2 separate regions of the Homo sapiens genome follow, and region 2 is linked to region 1. The links are contacts of gene promoters, found by promoter capture Hi-C in human tissues and cell types (Jung and others, 2019). All regions are on one chromosome and are shown on one strand. Each heading gives the region's core, a stretch centred on a gene start or on the middle of the fragment in contact. The rest is flanking DNA. Distances are from core to core; before and after follow the strand shown.

Region 1 (2,700 bases), core at 59-2,558:
AGTTTACAGGTTACTCTGTCACAAAATACTTTGTTAATTCACTACCCCGCAGCAACACACATCACCAAGGCTGGCTTCTGGAATGCTTTCTACTTGTAGCCATTTTTGAACAATAGGTGATTCCGCTTTTAACAACACTGTTAGAATATAATGTAGCGAGTTTTACCAGAGATGTTTAAGACTACCTGGCACAAGTAAATTTCATTGTATACATGTATATACACGAGGGAGGGTGATCATAGTCTAGAAAAAAACAGGTCTTCAGAAGTCTAGAACTTTAATAACCTTAAATCCAAATTATTCCCTGCGTCCATCCATAATGAGAAGGAAGAAATCTACACTTGCATTTCTTCCACCTTTCACATCTTTCTCATTTAAATCCTACTGTACTTGATTTGTGTTGTTCCCAACGTACTAGGTGCTATGCATGACGTAGAAACGTGTTTCCTTATATGTATGTACTAGCAGGCTCCTTCAAGCACATGCCTAAGGTTGAAAGATTCAAATATAATTATAGCCTCTTAAATTATTGCGTCAGAGCCCGCCCTATCCCCTCAGAAAAAGCCCCCTTTTACACCATCAAATGAAATATCAGGTTATTTGCACTGGATATTTTTTAAAAGAAAATATTTGATTTTAAAATCAAAGAGTTCTTGGTTTTCCATCATTTCACTAATTGTCTTACTAGAGACCCGAGTCTCCTTTGTCAAAATATATTTCAGTACGCATTTTAAAAAATATGTGTGTGTGTATACTTAAATATATATATATATAAAGTCTTGGACTTATTTTCACCTAGCCTGGGGCATATCGTGGATAGTTTCAATCGACAAAACAGGCACTCTCTGGCCTAGGAGTGGAATCCATCCTCAATTTTCGCAGGCTCCTCACAATTCTCTATTTGGAAGAAGTGTCCCTCTCCTTCCCTTTTCTTTTCCTCCTTTACTCAGCGTCAGTCCCCGCAGCCATCTCCTCCGACCCTTTTTGTCTACGTCCCAGCGTCGCGAACCACAGCGGCGGAGGTGGAGCGGGGAGAGGCGTTAGGCCGGGCGGCTAAAACGCGCCGTTAAAGTGGGGGAGAGATTGCGCGGAGCCCACGCGATCCCTGGGACGCCGGAGACAACGGGGCTCTTGGGAAGGCGCGGAGCCCGGGGAAGCCGGGGATGTGCGCGTGAGCCGTGCCCGCAGGGTCTCCCCGCCTCCGCCACCTTTCTTGGGTGGCTCTCCGCCTCGTCCTCCCTCCGAGGGCCGTTGGTACATTCCTAGTGACTCCAAGCGCTTAAAAGGGGCCCGGGAGGATGAACCCCACAGATCTGAACCTGATTTGTGTGTGCACCGCGTCTCCAGCGATCCCGGATCCACTGCGCTGCCAGGGGCCTGGGGGTGGGTCTCTTGCTGTCTCTGCGACGACATCCTTACGTTTCGGCACTCTAATGCTGGGTTTGTGCGTGTGTGTCTGCTTAGCGGTCTAGCGGGCTGTTAGGCTCCCTCGCCCCCAGCTCCTTGGCTCGCTCAGCTCCTCCACCGCAGCCCAGCAGTGAGACGCGCGCGCAGCCAGCTCCCCACGAGATGGAACAGACCGAAGTGCTGAAGCCACGGACCCTGGCTGATCTGATCCGCATCCTGCACCAGCTCTTTGCCGGCGATGAGGTCAATGTAGAGGAGGTGCAGGCCATCATGGAAGCCTACGAGAGCGACCCCACCGAGTGGGCAATGTACGCCAAGTTCGACCAGTACAGGTGAGCGCGCTGCAGCTTCAATGCCAGGCGGCGCCCACTCGCCCCGTCTGAGGAGGAATGGACGTGGGGGACGCAGCCCAAAGTGACTGGCTCGGGAAGCTCGGGCCGCGCTGCGTCCGCCGCTCGCCCCCTCGCTGGCCAGCCGCGGGGCTGGCACGACTCGCTTGGGGCTCCGCGGCCACAGCGCAGGCGGAAGGTGGATCCTACTGGCCTTGCTGACCTCCGGCCGGGAACGGCGGACAGGCGCCGGGAAGGGAGGCCACCGCGCGTCTGCGAGATTTTCTGTTCTCTTCTCTCCCGCAAACCCCTCTGCTTCTAAACCACCAGTCCTCCTGCCCCTGGCCTCGGGAGCAATGCCCACACTCCCAAGCCATCGTTAACCCCGGGCGCGGAGATGCGGAGAGACCGCACTCAGGTTCGGGCCCTCCTGACACCTTAAGGAACCGTCTGGCCGGACTAGCAGAGGGTGCTCCCAGGGGAGCACTACATCAGCCATCGGGAGAAGTGTGTGATGTTGAAGAAGACAAGTCACCCGCGTCAGTTCTCCATCACTGCGCCTTCGGTCGCCTGCAACCGGGCACCTTATAGCAAGCATTTTTACTCATGTAAAATAGCGTCTTGTGGCCGTCAGCTGCCACTACGGAATTTCTGCTGTTCCCTTTCCCAAACCAATTTAACTAACTTCCCCGACTGTGGGTTTATTCAAATCCACTGCCAAGTTTCGCAGATTAAATATTCGACCGTCGTTTTTTTCAGCCCCCAAATGATCTGATTTATCTTATCCTTGCTTCTGACGATCTGTAATGTAAATTAAAGACCCCTACTTCCCAGATGTACTTGAGTGAGGTGCCCTGGTAAGCTGGCTTTTTTGCAGCCCCGGCTTGGTGATTAAGTCGAATCTCTCTACCAATCCTCCGGGGCCAGAGGTAAAATTTAATCACCCCGAAGTGTGAGAGGTTCT
Region 2 (2,700 bases), core at 194-2,693, 1.1 Mb before region 1:
AATTCACTAAAATAGGGCAACAGTAAAGTTTGCCACATCAATGAATTCTTCCTTTCACAAACGATTTCTCTGTAGCATGTGATAGTGTTTGATAGCATTTGATAGCATTTTACCTACGGTAGAATTTCTTCCAAAATTGAAGTCGGTCCTCTCAAAACTTGCTGCTGCTTTATCAACTAAGTTTATTAAATGTTCTAAATCCTTTGTTGTCATTTCAACAATGTTCATAGCACCTTTACCAGGAGTAGAATCCATCTCAAGAACCACTGTCTGTGTATCCATAAGAAGCAACTCTCTTTTTTATGGCTACATTATTCCATGGTGTATATGTACCACATTTTCTTCATCCAGTCTATTATTGATGGACATTTAGGTTGATTCCATGTCTTTGCTATTGTGAATAGTGCTGCAATGAACATACATGTGTACACGTCTTTTAAGAGAACAACTTATACGAGACCATGGCCTTTGCAGGGACATGTGTGGAGCTGGAGGCCATTATCCTTGGCAAACTAACACAGGAACAGAAAACCGAATACCGCATGTTCTCACTTATAAGTGGGAGCTAAATGGTAAGAACACATGGGTGCAGAGAGGGAAAAACACAAACTGGGACCTATTAGAGGATGAAGGTTGAGAGGATGGAGAGGATCAGGAAGGATAACTAATGGGTATTAGGCTTAATACATGGGTGACGAAATAATCTGTACAACAAACCTTCACAACACAAGTTTACCTATGTAACAAACCTGCACATGTACCCTGAACATAAATTAGCAGTTAAAAAAAGAGGCAACCCTCATCCATTCAAGTTTTACCATGAGATTACAGCAATTCAGTCCCATCATTAGTCTCCACTTCTAATTTTAGTTCTCTTTCCATTTCCACCACATCTGCAAATACTTCTTCCACTAAAGTCTTGGACCTCTCAAACTCATTCATGAGGGTTGAAAGCAACTTCTTCCAAACTCTTGCTTCTGTTGATATCTTGACCTTCTCCTGTGAACCACCAATGTTCTTAATGGCATCTAGAATGCTAAATCCTTTCCAAAAGATTTTCAATTTACTTTGCCCAGATCCATCAGAGGAATTACTACCTATGGCAGCTATAGCATTATGAAATGTATTTTTAAATAATACAACTTGAAAGTAAAAATGACGCTTTGATCTATGGGCTGCAGAATAAATGTTATATTAGCAGGCATTAAAAACAACACCAATCTCCTTGTACATTTCTATCAGAGCTCTTGCTTGACTATGTACATTGTCAATAAGAAATCATATTTTGAAAGGAGTCTTTTTTCTGAGTAGTAGGCCACAACAGCTGGCTTAAGGTGGTCAGTAAAGCAGGCTGTAAACAGATGTTTACAGATGTTCAGACCTTGTTGCTCCATTTATAGAGCCCAGGCTGAGTTGATACAGCATAATTCTTAAGGGACCTAAGGTGTTCAGAATGGTAAATGAGCATTGGCTTCAACTTAAAGTCACCAGCTACATTAACTGCTAACAAGAGAGTCAGCCTGTCCTTTGAAGCTGGGCACTGACTTCTCGTCTCCAGCTATGAAAGTCCTAGATGGCACCTTCCTCTAACATAAGGCTGTTTTGTCTAAATTAAAAATCTTTTGTTTACTGTAGCCACCTTCACCAATTATCTAAGCTAGATCTTCCGGATAACCTCCGCAGCTTCCACATCAGCACACGCTACTTCACCTTGCACTTGTAAGTTATGGAGACAGCTTCTTTCCTTAAACCTCCTGAATCAGCTTCTGCTAACCTCAAACTTTTCTTCTGCAGCTTCCTCACCTCTCTCAGCCTCCACAGATTTGAAAAGAGTTAGGGCCTTGCTCTGGATTAGGTTTTGGTTTAAGGGAATGTTGTGGCTGGCTTGATCTTTATTCCAGACCAATAACACTTTCTCTGTATCAGCAATAAGGTTGTTTTGCTTTCATATCATTTGTGTGTTCACTGGAGTAGCACTTTTAATTTGCTTCAAGTACTTTCCTTTGTATTAGCAACTCATCTATCTGGCACGAGAGGCCTAGCTTGCAGCCTGTCTCAGCTTTTGACATGCCTTCCTCACTAAGCTTAGTAATTTCTTGCTTTTGATTTAAGGTGAGAGACTTGAAACTCTTCCTTTCACTCTAAGTGGAGGCCACTGAAGGGTTGTTAATGGGCCTAATTTCAAGATCTTTTTATCTCAGAGAACAGGGACGCCCAAGGAGAGGGAGAGAGGAAACGGCTGGTCAGTGGAAGAGTCAGAACACGTACAATGTTTATCAGTTCAGTTTTGCCATCTTATACGGGCATGGTTCAAGGGATGCCAAAATAATTACAATAGTAACATCAAAGATCACCGATCACTGATCACCATTACAAATATAATAATGAAAACGTTTGAAATATTGTGAGAATTGCCAACATGTGACACAGAAATACAAAGTGAGCACATGCTGTTGAAAAAATGGTGCCAATAGATTTGCTTAATGTAGGGTTGCCATAAACCTTCAAATTGTAAAAAAAAAAAACTCAATATCTGTAAAGTGCAATAAAGAAACGTGCAATAAAATGAGGCATGCCTGTAGTTGAGAGGGAGATTTTCAAACTGAGAGATTAAGATATGCTAGCAGTTCTCAAACTCCTTGAACTCAGAACCCCTCATTTAAAAATCACTGAAGCTCTCCAATGGGCTTTTTTACATGA

The links. The method cuts DNA at HindIII sites, captures the fragments that hold promoters and counts their contacts. A contact is called where the count stands out against the background at its distance.
Region 2: a fragment that was not itself captured here is called in contact with the fragment with the promoter of CDO1 in region 1 in 1 of the 25 tissues and cell types used here (small bowel).

What each region holds. Positions count from the first base shown.
Region 1 is chr5:115,815,267-115,817,966 of GRCh38, reverse strand. CDO1 (cysteine dioxygenase type 1) reads left to right here and starts at 1,308. Exons shown (of 5, transcript NM_001801.3): 1 at 1,308-1,739. The coding sequence starts at 1,570. LOC124901049 (a long non-coding RNA gene) reads right to left here and starts at 879. Exons shown (of 2, transcript XR_007058908.1): 1 at 796-879. The HindIII fragment of the contact is 9,051 bases long and covers 1-2,700 here.
Region 2 is chr5:116,905,434-116,908,133 of GRCh38, reverse strand. The region is part of intron 1 of LOC105379136 (a long non-coding RNA gene); the gene reads right to left. All of the region lies in intron 2 of LOC105379135 (a long non-coding RNA gene), which reads left to right. Among named protein-coding and RNA genes, the nearest start is that of LINC02214, 140 kb to the right of the region's middle. The HindIII fragment of the contact is 7,340 bases long and covers 1-2,700 here.